4 separate regions of the Homo sapiens genome follow, and all the other regions are linked to region 1. Evidence: promoter capture Hi-C in 16 types of primary human blood cells and fetal thymus (Javierre and others, 2016). All regions are on one chromosome and are shown on one strand. The core of a region is centred on a gene start or on the middle of the fragment in contact, and the rest is flanking DNA. Distances in the headings are between cores, read along the strand shown.

The links. Contacts are between HindIII fragments. The CHiCAGO score rates a contact against its expected background, and 5 or more counts as called.
Region 2: a contact is called between a fragment that was not itself captured here and the fragment with the promoter of KCTD8 in region 1, in 1 of 17 cell types (M2 macrophages). The highest score is 6.2, in M2 macrophages.
Region 3: a fragment that was not itself captured here is called in contact with the fragment with the promoter of KCTD8 in region 1 in 2 of 17 cell types (naive B cells and total B cells); the score reaches 6.3 in naive B cells.
Region 4: a fragment that was not itself captured here is called in contact with the fragment with the promoter of KCTD8 in region 1 in 2 of 17 cell types (naive B cells and total B cells); the score reaches 9.3 in naive B cells.

The regions. Positions count from the first base shown.
Region 1 is chr4:44,447,156-44,450,860 of GRCh38, forward strand. KCTD8 (potassium channel tetramerization domain containing 8) reads right to left here and starts at 1,654. Exons shown (of 2, transcript NM_198353.3): 1 at 408-1,654. The coding sequence starts at 1,368. The HindIII fragment of the contact is 5,511 bases long and covers 1-3,705 here.
Region 2 is chr4:42,997,456-43,001,160 of GRCh38, forward strand. The region is part of intron 2 of GRXCR1 (glutaredoxin and cysteine rich domain containing 1); the gene reads left to right. Among named protein-coding and RNA genes, the nearest start is that of GRXCR1, 110 kb to the left of the region's middle. The HindIII fragment of the contact is 4,303 bases long and covers 1-3,705 here.
Region 3 is chr4:43,084,917-43,088,621 of GRCh38, forward strand. No RefSeq gene overlaps it. Among named protein-coding and RNA genes, the nearest start is that of GRXCR1, 190 kb to the left of the region's middle. The HindIII fragment of the contact is 1,563 bases long and covers 1,131-2,693 here.
Region 4 is chr4:43,120,580-43,124,284 of GRCh38, forward strand. No RefSeq gene overlaps it. Among named protein-coding and RNA genes, the nearest start is that of GRXCR1, 230 kb to the left of the region's middle. The HindIII fragment of the contact is 6,909 bases long and covers 1-3,705 here.

The DNA.
Region 1 (3,705 bases), core at 404-2,903:
TGAAATGACCCCCAGCAGTCCTGCAAAAGCAAAGGGGTGGAGGAGGGTCTATGCACCCTGCCCTGTGCCCCAGTCTCTCCCACCCTGTCCTCCGCAACCGAGGAGACCCTGGCATCTGGGAGCGGGCTGGGCCGAGAAGGCAAGATCAATAAAGTTCAGCAAGTAGACAGCTGGGAGCTGGGTGCTACTGAGTTCTAGAAAGGGGGAGTAGAGACGGAAATATCCGAATCGGTGAAATGTAAATCGTGTCTACTGCATAAGGGAATCGTGCAGGGAGAGCCGCTCTCTATAAGGAGTTAACCAGCGCCTGCCCCGGACACCCCCGCGGGGCCTCCAGCGGGGCTCAAACTGGCGGCGGCTCAGCAGGGGGCGAGGGGTGCTGGGAAACGCCGGGGCTGCGAACTTACGGAAGAAAATGTACTCGGTGTAGCTGCTCCAGATCTTGTCGTCGCGGTACTGGTTGACGAAGGCGGCGGTGCCCGAGGAGTTACACGCCACCATGTGGAAGCCGGCCTCGGACAGGCGATCAAAGGCCTGCTCCAAGTAGGTGAACTTGAGGTAGAAGCGGGACGTGTACTTCTCCGGCTGCCGGTCGGGGTCGCGGCTCTCGTTGAGCGTGTCCCCGAAGACCTCCTTGGCCAGCGCGATGCGCCCGCACACCATGATGCGCGCCACACGCCGGAATTTGGCGTCGGCCTGGTTGTCGCGCACGGTGGTGTAGGAGCCCCGGTAGCCCAGCGTGAGGAAGCCCGAGCGCTTGTCCTGCGCGCCGCCGCCGCCGCCACCACCGTGCGCTCCCGGGCCCGAGGGCACGGCGGCCGCCGCCCCGCGCAGCAGCAGCGCGTCGCTGCTACCCTGCGAGACGTTGTCCTCCAGGTCGCTCTGGCAGCCCTCGTCGTTGAGAGAGTTCTGCTTGGTGACCTTGGGCGACAGCAGCTTGACCAAGTCGGTGAGCTGGAAATACTCGGCCTCGCGCAGCAGCCGCTCCTTCTCGGGGAAGTGCTCCGGCAGCGCGAGTTGCTTGTCCCGCAGATAATCCAGCACGTACCTGAAAAGGAAGCCGTCCCGGTCGATGAAGAAGCGCGCCCGGCTGTCCCTGGGCAGCTCGCCCCGGCGCCGGGCGCCGCCACGGGGACTAGAGGGCGAGAACATGCTGGCCAAAGTACTGTCCGGGACGCTGAGCAGCGTCGAGTGCTTGGTCACATAAACCTGGCCGCCTACGTTCAGCTCCACTACTTCAGGGAAGGGCGAGGGTGCGCAGGGCCCCGGGGCGGCGGCGGCCGACGCGCCGGGCGAGCTGGACGAGGAAACCATCTCGCTAATGGGCAGGATGGTGCTGCCGCCGCTGCCCGTGTCCTTCAGAGCCATAGTCCCCCCGCCGCCGGCCCAGTGACCCGAGAGAGCTGCACTTTCTCGTTCCCGGAGCCCGCGCCCCAGCCCTCCGCGTGCTCCTGGCGCTCTGCGCCCTCGGACTGGGCGGCGCGTTCCTCCGACCGGGGCGGCCCCGCTCAGGGTTCGGGGCAGCGGCGGCGTCGGCGGCGCCCGAGCTCCATCGGAGGAGAGACGCGCGAGAGAGGAGCTCCGCCGGTGCGGCGGCGGCAATGGAGAGGCAAGAAGGAGCTGCTGCTCCTTTGGGGCGAGGGCGGGGAAGTGTGAGAGAGACTTGCGAGAGGCTCTAGGGCTGCTGCTCGGCTCTCCGTGGGGAGGGCGGGAGGAGGGGCCGAAGCAAAGAAAACTCGCCGCCCCGGCAGCTTGCAAGCGTGCCGCGAGGCCGGAGCGCCGACGGTGGCGCTAACTACTCCTGGCAGCACGGGAGGAGGCACTGACGTCAAGCCCCGGACTGGGACCCGAGCCTCAGCTGTCATTTAAAGAGATAGGCTGCAGCCGCGGCTCCCGGGCTCCGACGCTAGGGGGCGGGGCCGAGAGCCGAGCCTGCAAGAGGTGCAGCTCCCCGACCCGCGGGGACAGGCAGGCAGGGAGCTCCTAAAGCAAAAGCGAGAAAAAGGGACAGCGCTCTCATTCCTTCATTTCACTCCCTCCTTGGGTCTGTGCCACCCCCTTTCCTCCCTCCTTTCCTTCTTCTCTTCCTTCCTTCCTTGCCTCCCTCCCCAGTAAAACTAGTTTTTTGCACTTTCATTAAGGTAAGGAGTGGAGGAGCGGAGAGGGGAGAATAAGGTTTTGATTATAGCAAAGATGCCAGGCTCCTAATCTGAAATCACCACAAATGTTGGCTTGCCAGCAGTGATTGCAAAAAGATTACGTGAGGGTGGGAAGGTACATCTCTTGTAGTGGCTTTATGATACAGTTTAAGTGAAGGGCTAAATGCGCGTACCTCTCTTGGAATCAAATTTCACGACTGCGTGCACTGAATATCCTTGAATAATTTTTAAAACTTTGTAATCTGCTTTCAGTTCACAATAATAAAGGAGTGTATGTAACAACTGTTTCCTTCCGACATTTTTACAATTTTTAGTTTTAAATTAGATGCTTAATAAATGTTTATAGAGGGAGAGACGGAGCCCGAGAGGAAATTTACTCGATTTGTTCATTCTTTCTAATCCTGATCAGTCTCATTAATCTCTCCATTTCCCTTTCAGCTCCATCAAACAAGAGAAGTGGCTGATATTTTTATTAGTCTTCTAACCCCAAGAGTAAGGTCACAAATAAAAATTATATGAATTTAAGCTCACCTTAATTTCCATGTGTACATAGTACAGGTACAGTCTGCAAAATGAGCATTACTTGTGATAAAGACTGAAAATAGGAAAGCAAATGAGAAATATTTCTTCTACCCTGGGGCATACATCTGTGTTCAGAAACATAAAGAATCATTGATTTATGAAGTACAAAAGAGAAAAGGGTGTATTGTGGCACAAAGTAGTTTGCTTCAATTATCATAACAATATTACAGATGAACTTTATCCATTAGCAGTCGATATACAGATTTTAATATTTTTTAAAAAGTTAAATGCCTACTAACAACTCCTTTTCTTCAAACCACCCAAAAAAGTATCAAATTTCAGATACGGTTGTAAATTAATACATTATTTTTGGAACATTACAAATTATGTTTAAATCATTGATCCTTATAAGCTGCATCCATAGACAATGTTATACCAATTTTGAAGTTGCATTATATGAAGCAGAGAGAACCTAATGGACCAATGAAAGAACAGAATATATTTGCCAAAGGACTGAGACTTAAAACGGGGGTTTCGGTATGCATCATCATGCAATCCTTTTACTCAAAACTATTGTGTCCTGCCAAATTTATAAACTGATTGATCAAATTAACTAATTTAATTGATTTAGCCTTCATTTAAAAGTTAAAACCAAGTATTAAAATAACAGAAAAAATACACTATTTTCTGCCTCATTAGAAGAATATTCGGGATTTAAAGTAATCGTTCCTGGATAAATGAATTAATAGATGCTTTATAATCTTCATAGATGAATATATAATAATGCCTCAAACCACTACTAGTGAAGCCCATTTATCATAAGGTAAGTGTCCCTAATGATAAGTAAGGTGCAGACTGTAGAACTGTAATGAAGTGGATATATAATAAATATGCATGTGAATATGAAGTCGCTAATATCAGGTTGAAATCCATCTTTACTTTTGAATTAAATAAATTATGTCTATAAGATAAAGTGATCAAAAATTTATACTCTAAATGAATCATCTCAAAAATTCACAATGAA
Region 2 (3,705 bases), core at 728-3,227, 1.4 Mb before region 1:
TTATTTTCTGTATCTTCTGAGGCTTTAACATCTGGGACCTTGCTAACACTGGAGAGACTGCTCCTCCAGGGTCATCTAATTCCTAGAGATAGCAAAGGACTTGCTCAAGAACGAGTCTTGATTGCAAATGAGTCTTGAATGCAAAGGAGCTCCTCCCCACAGTCACCTCCCCTATGGGACTCTCACACTCAGGGTGCGCCATCTCCCTGATCACCCCAGGGCCCGGAATCAGAAAACTAGGGATGGCCTTTCTGTCCCAGAGCCCACTGAAGTTATTTAAAGCAGCCAATCGTAAGCCTGTTCACCCTGCCTTGCTTTTTCCATGGAAACCACAATAAAGGCCCCTGCCCTCATTTCTGCCTCTCTCCCTCTGCCTCCTAATGATCCCAGTTCTTCCCTGTGTGGCTCCTGCATGGCATGGCGTGCCTCCTCCCTCCTCTCGGGAACTGTGAGTACAAACTCTCTTTTCCATGTCAATTGTTTTCTCATCTGTTGGCCTCACCATACCTGAATAATAATAAAACCTACATTTTAAAATAGAAGAGAATAATACTTTTTTAAAAGCGTATATTTCTTACTTTATGTCAGGCACAATGGTCCTTCCAGTTTGATGAGGTAAATGCAATTATTACCCCCATTTTCCAAATAAAGGGACTGAGGCTGGGTGAGCCTCATTTCACAGCCAACATTTCACAGCCAGGAGATGATAGAGCAAAGTTTAAAACAGGGCCTTCTGAACGTGAGTCCATAAAAATATGTTTCCTATCACTTAACTCTGCTCTGTTGAAAAACATCAGCAAATTCATCCACTTCCTTTCCATTCTTACTTTTCTTCTGTTGGCTGACCCCTTTCTTAATAAAGATAAACTTGAAAAGAATACACCAAAACTTCTAATCTATAAATGGAGAGTGCCACATTTTTATTCATGTACAAATGTTCCATGCACATGTAATTAAGTAGAGTATAAATACTACCTCCACACATCTGGAAAATAATAGAAAATATGGAAAGGACAGTCTCTGAAGACAATATCACAAAAACGCAAGTGAAAGATACATTGTAAAAATGTTAATGATTGACTAAACATTGTCAAAATGGCCAGGCTTGTAAGGAAAAAAATGTCTGTTTGTGGTTCTTCATAAAAAATAAAGAAAACACAGCAGGTTTGCATTTGGGCCGACATGCTTGAATTTCATGTTTGTGGCATTTCCTGACAGGACATCATCTGTCCCAAACATTTCATGTGTTCTGACTTTTCCATAAGGCAGAGGGTCTTGTTTCAAGGAATAATTACCTCTGAAAATGGAAATTTAAACAGAAGAAATGTTTTTCACCTTTTTGATCATTCTTCTTGACTATGGTCAATAGTTGGAATTTTGTGTGTCAGAGATAAGTTTTGAGAGTTTACTTTAAAAAATGATTGGCAAATTGGTAGATTTGGCTTTCCCAGGCATGCAATACAGCTAACATTGGTGACTTGATGTCCGGTACCTATATTAGATCCTTCTTGGCTGTCAAAAAGTATTTTAAGTCAATAGAACTTAGGAAGAAATGACTTCATAGGTGCACAATCCAGATAACAACCGAGGTCCCTGACCACTTAGGATATAGGAAATATTAAAAGCTGCAAAACTGCATTCTTGGTGCATGTCCACTATTGAGAATGAAGGAGTGATGAGGGCAGGCAGGCTTGCATTCTTATGATCCTTTCTGCCTCAGGTGTATTTCTTCTTTGTATAGTCTGTGTCCTGCACTACAGTCAACCTTGATGTTAAATTCAGCTCATTTCTGGTTTCTCTGCACATCATACCTACAAAGCATGTGTGTATAGAATTTACTCAATGCTCAGAGTTGGGTGTGAGGAGAGACAAAGGAGGGTCTTGCTTTGTACTAAAAAAGACAGCTTCCACTTAAACATGAGCTTCTTCAAGGTCCTTCGACTGCACAGCCTTTCAGGCTTCTTCACCACACAGCCTTAGTTGGTCCCATCTTGTCACTGCACATACTGTCACCTCATCCTCACCTTTCCAAGTCTCTTCCATCCACTCCCCTTTCTTTGGAAGTAAAAACAAAGCATCTTTCTTTATTTCCTATACAACAGTGAGGCCATTCTCCTTTGCTGTCTTTGGCTCCTATGCCTCTCCCATCCTCAGGTCCACTTTTTCCCTCAAGATATCCCAAGATCAGGCCATTCTCCATAATTCAGATTTTTTCCTTAAAGTCTGATTGCTTGGTACAACTATTAGGAATTGTTAAAAACCCATTTAAAGTTTATTGCACACTAAATTAAGAAAACAGCTTTAATTCACTAACAGTATCTAAAAAGTAGACAACTTGATGCAGCCTAAAGTACATGGTTGGCTCAATTGTTTGTATGCATCGGTAAAAGACAATAAACCTACTAAATTCCTAAGATTGTTTGCTATCAGATGGTTGCTGGAATTTAGTTTCTGGTTAATGTGTCTTTGTTCACCTTTCGTGATACACAGTATTCCCCAAACAATCCAAAGTTTTGATTTCCATGGTTTCAGTTACTCACAGTCAACTGCAGTTTGAAAACATTAAATGGAAAATTCCAGAAATAAGCAATTCATAAATCTTAAGTTGTGCACCGTTCTGAGTAGTATGATAAAATCTTGCACTATCCTGCTTTGTCCCTTGGCATGTGAATCATCTCTTTGTCCAGTGTCTCCACACTATACATGCTTTCTGCCTGTTACTCACTTAGAAGGCGTCTAAGGGGGTGGGCACTGTGGCTCACACCTGTAATCCCAGCACTTTGGGAGGCCGAGGCAGGTGGATCATGAGGTCAGGAGATTGAGACCATCCTGGCCAACATGGTGAAACTGTCTCTAGTAACAATACAAAAATTAGCTGGGTGTGATGGTGCACACCTGTAATCCCAGCTACTCAGGAGGCTGAGGCAGAAGAATCGCTTGAACCAGGGACTAGGAGGTTGCAGTGAGCCAAGAATGCGCCACTGCACTCCAGCCTGGTGACAGAGCGAGGCTCTATCTTAAAAAAAAAAAAAAAAAAAAAAAGAAGGCATCTAAGTCTCATGGTATAGCAGTGCTTATGGTCAAGTAATCCTTTTCTACTTCACAATGACCCTGAAGTGCAAGAGTTGTGATGCTGGAATATTATTACAATTATTCTATTTTACTATTAATTGTTGATATCTCTTACTGTGCCTAATTTATAAATTGTTAGAGGTATATATATATATACAGAGAAAACCTCAGTATATATAGGCTTCCGTACCATCTTTGGTTTCAGGCATCCACGAGGGGGTCCTGAAATGTATCCTCCAGAGAAGGGAGCACTACTGTATAAGCCTACTCTGATTGTGTCATTACTAAAACATATGGGGAAAAGTGGTGATGACTATATTACCAATTCGTATATTTTTAGCCGTATACTTGGACTGTATTTATAGCTATAGGTGTTTTTCTCTTTCTTCAACTTCTCTCTTTTTTCACTTTTTTCTTGAGAAGGCGCCTCACTCTGTTGCCCAGGCTGGAGTACAGTGGTGCTATCTCGGCTCACTGCAACCTCTACCTCCCGGGTTCAAGCAGTTCTCCTGCCTCAACCTCCTGAGTAGCTGGGATTACAGGGAGCCCTCATTGTGCCCAGCTAATTTTTGTATTTTTTTTTTTTTTGGAGAGACAAGGTTTCACCATGTCAACTTCTATCTTTTAAAGACG
Region 3 (3,705 bases), core at 662-3,161, 1.4 Mb before region 1:
ATTCTAATTAGTGAGATTCTGTATCTCTGTGACATTTTGCTCAAGAACATTTTTGCCCCATAGTGTAACAACCAACCACATATCTTCTTTTTGTCTATTCTGCTCATTATACTTAAAATGACTCTGAAGTTTACATATTATAATTTGCTTTGTTACTGAACTCTCTCAGGTAAAAGTCACCTTTTATTCTTTTTTAAGTATTCTGTAATTTGGTTAGAAATGAAAATGATATGAGCACATGTGGATCTCAGGAGTATTCTTTTTTACCTTTAAAGGATGGACTATCATAGCTTATTATTGTTGTACTCATGATTACAGATCAAAACTGCTTTTTTTTTGTAGAAAATTGTTTCTGCATACATCTTTCATTGAATCTTCAACAAACAGCTCTCATGGGGAATGTATTGTATTACCATTCTACAGATAAGAAAAATGAGGTTCTGAGAACCAAAGTTTTTGACACAGATACTTAAAGATATTTTTGGCTATTTTAAGTTCTAATGAATTCCCTTGTGAATTTGAGTCAGCTGGTCAATTCTACAAAAGTCTCTGATAGAATTTTGGTTGAGATTACATTGATACTTTAGATAAGTCTGGAGATAATTGATTTCTTTACTATATTGTGTTTTCTATTCCATAAACATATATGTCTCTGTATTTATATAGGTCTTTAATTTCTCTCAGCAATACTTTGTATTTGTGTACAGGTGTTTCACTTCTTCTGTTAGGTCATCCATAAGCAATATATATATTTTTGTGCTGTTATTTTTTTTCAAAAATTTCAGTTTCTGATTGCTTGATTTTTTATGTGGAAATGCAATTTATTTTTGTGTATTAACTATCTCATGAACTCTCTAAACATACTAATACATTCTAGTACCATTTTTATAGGATTTTCTAGGTAGAGCTGATTTGTCTGTGAATAAGGAGTTTCATGTTTTTCTTTCTAATATGGTTGCTATTTATTTACTTATTTACAGTTGACTCTTGTTATTCACAGCAATTATATGCTATAATGGCTCCGGGAACACTGACTTAAGAGTTATTGAACCATTGCTTCTAGGAGAAATACAAGGTTAGGTGCCTGTAAGCCTCTGGTCACAGCATTTTCATCAACTGATGAATACCCAAGCTTGTTTTATGTATATTTCTGTTTAAGCAAACATTACTTAAGATGTCTTATTGATTGATTCACATTGAACTCAGAGCCAACAGCATTATAATTTACGCCTGAAAGAATTGCATGTAGCACACCTATTTTCCCTGAAAGGCACATCACAGTCCTCTTGTTCTTAGGAATGCTAGCCAACACTTCAGCATTATGCTTAAGGGCCATTTTAGGCAAGGGAATCACCAACAAAAAGTACAAAAGTGTGAAAAACATGGCACTATATAGACCATGACAGTTGTTCACGGTATGAGAATTGAAACAAGAAGTCGAAGTGTCACCTTGTTCCACCTTAGCTGGGAACGTGCTGGTGTTGAATTTCCTCACATATTTTGGGATTCTCAAGTGCTTTATGTCTTCATTATTCTTCTTTTTAAAGAAAAGATCTCCTCACTGCTTTAGTGCAGAGTCAGCTTCAGATCCATGGAGGTTACTTTTGTTTAGAGCTGTACCTCTGGTTGGCTTCTTTCTTTTAGAGCTGCATCTCCATTTCTGGTCCCAAGAGAATTTCTTTTCTCATATATATGTATCTATACACACACATAGATATAGGTATGTGTGTATACATATATATATGTATGTGTGTATATATATTATATAATTTTTCATATATGTATGTATGAATATAGGTATGAATATATGTGTATATATATATATGGCAAGCACTTCTGCATTCTAAAGTAAGGTGTGAGCATAATGAAATAGGGTTATAAAGACATGCTCAAAAATCAGTTTTGTGATAAATAGTTCTGCATGTCCTTTTAAGGTCAAAAGAGTTCAAGTTGCTGAAGTTATTGTTGTTTGGAAAATAGAAGTATTTCTTCACACTCTAACATCAACACATTTAAAAAGGGCACTAAGAGTCCTGATGCCAATTCCCACGGAGGAAAAATTAGTGGTATATTCCATTCACCTTAAGGCCTTGGAGAGCTTGAACTGTGTCCCTGGAGGTCAGGGGTTACAGAAAACTTTTCTGTGAGCCATCATCTTGAGACACTGTGTCCAGTTCTGAGAAGAGGTTGTCATTTTGGCAATAACCTTGACTCCCAGAGTTACTTAAGCTGAACCATGCATTAGTACTTTCTGAGGATGAGATATGAGCCCCATGGATGAGAGAGCTAGTCCATGAAGAATATGTATAGGGGCATGGTATCTGGTTTCCCAAATCTGATGAGGAGTCACAAGTATCCTGCCAGAGATGTCAGGGATCTGCAACAAGACATTTCAGCAACTGGAAGTGGTATGGAAGGAATATCTCCCTGAAGCCCACAAATAATCTCTTAAAAAAAAGGAAAAGGTCAGTTCGACCTAAACCAAAGGAAACCATATTATTCTGATACTGTCATATGAGATCCTGGTATGTTTTTCTCCTGGGCCAGTCCCTCAGAAGGAACAGAACTCTCAGCTAGTGATGTAGGGATGAAGGATTTGATGGCTGAAGAGGGACTAAGAAGAGGTTAGTCATGCAACCCTTTTCCTCTTCAGGCTATCAACTTTAAGCAAGGCTGAGCTTGGGGAGAGAAGAAGCTTTGATTTTGACTGTAGTTTAGAGTTTCCATTACTATGTGAAAATGGAAATTTTACTCAGCATAAAAAGATTATTTTGATGACTAAATATGGCTAGAGGAACTTTTATTACCTGAGAGTGATAAAAACTTTTGATGACTAAATATGGCTAGATGAACTTTTATTACCTGAGAGTGAAAAAAATGTTGCAGACTTATTATTTCATTTCTCTTGAGTAAATATCAGGAGTAAAACTGTGGGAATGATACATTTTAAGAAATGATCTAATTGTTTTCCAAAGTGATCATAACAATGTTAAATTCCCTCCAGCATTATATGAGAGTTCTCATTCTACAATCTCTCCAATACTTGGTATGATCAGTCTTTACTTTCAGTAAGTAAGTATGTGGTGGTATCTCTCTGAGGTTTTGCTCTGAATTTCCCTAATAACTAATAGTATTTGCCAAATTTTCATATGCTTATTTGCCACCCTTAAGCCTTCTTTGATAATGTGTCTATTCAAATCTTTTCCCAATTTTTATTTTGTTTTATTATTGAGTTTTGTGATTGAAAAAATATATTCTGCAAATAAGCCATTTATCATGTATATGATTTGCAGATATTTTCTCCTAGTCTTTGTCTTGCTTTTACATGTTCTTTACGGTGTTTTTTTAAAAAGCAAACATTTTTAATTCGTTCTTCTGTAGATTGTTTTTAGTTTTATATGTAAAAAATCTTTGTCTTACCCAAAGCTATAAAATATATGTGCATATAAAATATTGTACTTGAATATTCATAGTAATTTTAGTGAAAATCTGGAAACAGCACAAATGCCCATCAACAGGTAACTGGTTTTACAAAATTATAGTATATCCTTAAAATGAAATACTACTCAACAATAAAAAGGAATGAAATACGAATACACACTACAACATGGATGAATCTCAAAATAATTGTGTGGAATGAAAGATATATGACAAACAAAATTACATGTTGTATGATTTCATTTATATACTGTTCTAGAAAACTTA
Region 4 (3,705 bases), core at 888-3,387, 1.3 Mb before region 1:
TGGCTTCCTTCAGCCATGATTAGAGCAGCTGGGACACAGGGCACCAAGTCTCTAGGCTGCACACAGCACAGGGACCCTGGGCTTGGCTCACAAAACCACTTTTTCCTCCTGGGCCTCCGGGCCTATGATGGAAGGGGCTGCCATGAAGGTCTCTGACATGGCCTGGAGACATTTTCCCCATTGTCTTGGAGATTAACATTAGGTTCCTTGCTGCTTATGCAAATTTCTGCAGCTAGCTTGAATTTCTCCTTCAAAAAATGGGGTTTTCTTTTCTATATCATCAGGCTGTAAATTTTCCGCATCATTAGCCTACAAATTTTCTGAACTTTTATGGTCTGTTTCCCTTTTAAAACAGAATGCTTTTAGCAGTACCCACGTAACCTCTTGAATGGTTTGCTCTTAGAAATTTCTTCTGCCAGATACCCTAAATCATCTCTCTCAAGCTCAAAGTTCCACAGATTTCTAGGGCAGGGGCAAAATGCTGCCAGTCTCTTTGCTAAATGTAACAAGAGTTGCCTTTGCTCCAGTTCCCAACAAGTTGCTCATCTCCATCTCAGACCATCTCAGCCTGGCCCTTATTGTTCATGTCACTATTAGCATTTTCATAAAAGCCACTCAAGTCTCTAGTAAGTTCCAAACTTTCCCGCATTTTCCTGTCTTCTTCTGAGCCCTCCAAACTGTTCTAACCTCTGCCTGTTACCCAGTTCCAAAGTCTCTTCCACATTTTCAGGTATCTTTTCATCAACGCCCCACTCTACTGGTACCAATTTACTGTATTAGTCCATTTTCTTGCTGCTGACAAAGATGTACCCAAGACTGGGAAGAAAAAGAGGTTTAATTTATAGTTCCACATGGCTGGGGAGGCCTCAGAATCATGGCAGGAGGCAAAAGGCTCTTCTTACATGGTGGCAGCAAGAGAAAATGAGGAAGAGGCAAAAGTGGAAACCCCTGATAAACCCATCAGATCTCATGAGACTTATTCACTACCATGAGAATAGCATGGGAAAGGCGGTCCCCATGATTCAATTACCTCCCCCTGGGTCCCTCCCACAACACGTGGGAATTCTGGGAGATACAATTAAAGTTGAGATTTTGGTGGGGACACAGCCAAACCATATCAACATGCAAATGGCAAACAGGCATATGAAAAAGTGCTCAACAATACTGATCATTGGAGAAACGCAAATCAAAACTACAATGAGATCTCTTCTCACTCCAGTTAAAATGGCTTACATCTAAAAGACAGGCAATAACAAATGCTGCTGAGGATGTGGAGAAAAGGGAACCCTTGTATGCTGTTGGTGGAATTGTAAATTAGTGCAACCACTATGGAGAACAGTTTGGAGGTTCCTCAAAAACTAAAAACTGAGCTACTGTATGATCCAGCAATCCCACTGCTGTGTATATGCCCAAAAGAAAGGAAATCAGTATATCAAAGAGATATCTGCTCTCCTATATTTGTTGCAGGACTGTTTATAATAGCTAAGACTTGGAAACAATGTAAGCATTCATCAATAGATGAATGGATTAATAAAACGTGGTACATATACACATGGAGTACTATTCAGCCACAAAAAAGAATGAGATCCAGTCATTTGCCATGACATGGATGGAACTGGAAATTATTGTGTTAAGTGAAACAAGCCAGATACAGAGACACAAAAATTGCATGTTCTCAGTTATTTGTGGGATCTAAAACTCAAAACAATAGAACTAATGGACAGAGAGAGTAGAAGGATGGTTACCAGAGGCTGGGAACGGTTGTAGGGGACTGGGCAGGGAAGGTGGGGATTATTAAGGGGTGCAAAAATGTAGTTAGAAAAAATCAATAAGACCTACTGTTAGACAGCACAACAGGGTGACTATAGTCAATAATAGCTTAATCGTACATTTTAAAATAACTTAAATAGTGTAATTGGATTGTTTGTAACTGAAAGGATAGATGCTTGAGGGGATGGATACCCCATTCTCCATGATGTGCTTATTCCACATTGCTTGCCTGTATCAAATAATCTCATGTATCCCATAAATATACACACTTACTATGTACCCATAAAAATAAAAATAAAAAAATAAAATTATAGCACTTTAAAATATACATTATAAGCAGCCTAATCAAGGTGGAAATGTGGTAAATGCAATGTAATTAATTTGCATCTTATATAATTAATTCAAAATAAATCAATATGATTTTTTTATACATATATTATACAATATTTTGTGAAAATTGTTATTTATAAAATAAGACATATGATAAAAGGCATTGTATTAGTTTTTTATATTACAAACTAGAAGCCTTTTAAGAGAGAAATGTATTGTCTTCAGTTCTGTAGGCTGAAAGTCTGAAATCAAGATGCCAGCAGGACTGATTCCTTCTGAGTGCTATGAGGGAGAATCTGTTCCAGGGCTTGCCCCTAGCTTCCGGTAGCCTTAGGCATTACATAGCTGTAGATGGACTTTTCCCTGTGCTTTCGCATCATCTTTCCTCTATATGTGTTTGTATATGTGTCCACATTTTACCTTTTTTATAAGGACACAGGTCATACTGGATTATACTGGTCATACTGGATTAGGGCCCAACCAAGTGACCTCATCTTAACTTGATCATCTACACTGGCCCTATTTCCAAAAAAAGTTCAATTCACAGCTACTGGGGGTAAGGATTTCAGTATATTTTTCAGGGACACAATCCAACCCACAATAGGCATGCTGTTACTTTAATAAATGTATATATATAGCAAATTCATTTGTTTGGGTTTGGAAATAATACAATAAAAATTAATGATTTAAAATGAAAAGAACCATATTAACTTTGTTAGATGCTAGAATCTAATTTTCTCTGTCTTCTATAAAAGGAAACAATACCTAGTACTGAAAATTAAGACACTGATAGTTGGCATATGTTAATTTTTCATAGTAATAAGAAAAAGGTAAGTATATTGTACGATAATTAAAAATAAAAGGAGTAAATGTTTCATGATTTCACTTGAGATTATTGGTTTTAATTATCATATTGAATTCTAAATACCAACTCTGACAGTAATTATATGAGTTTTACCTGTGAATTTTATTCAATGTGTCAGGAAAGCCATGGTAGTCTTTCAAAACATTTGTTATGTTTGAAGAACCAATATCATAAGCCTTTGCTACTGTATCTGTTTTTAAGTTGCTTTTTAAAAAAAAGTTAATGACAAATTCTGGAGATGAGTAGTTAGAATATACAAAGCAAATTATCAAAAAAAAGCATTTTTAGGGTTCAATATCTATTTCCAATGCTCTGCTTTATTTTTATGAGATTTTACCTCAGACTTTACACCTTCTTTGACAATAGCCTGAAATAAAAGAGAAAAAGTTGTCAAACAAAAATTGTTGTCACCCACTCTATTTCACAACATTTGAACTCAGAAGATTCCAACTCACGACATAGTGTTCCATTATAGTATTATGTGTCCACCTTAACAAAAACATATAAAAATAAGAAAAAAGAAGCCCTGTGTATTTATTACATTTTGGTTGATTAATAACTAAAAGAGAGATATATAAAATAAATATTTTCAACTATATGTTTATTTGGATGGGTGAGGGCTGTATCTTTTCTGTAAAAGTGAAAAACAGGTATTGTGGATGCAGGAATGCTCCCAGTTAGGTAAGTTTTTATAAAGACAAATTATGAAAGTTGAGAATCTGGAAATTGATTTCCTTAAA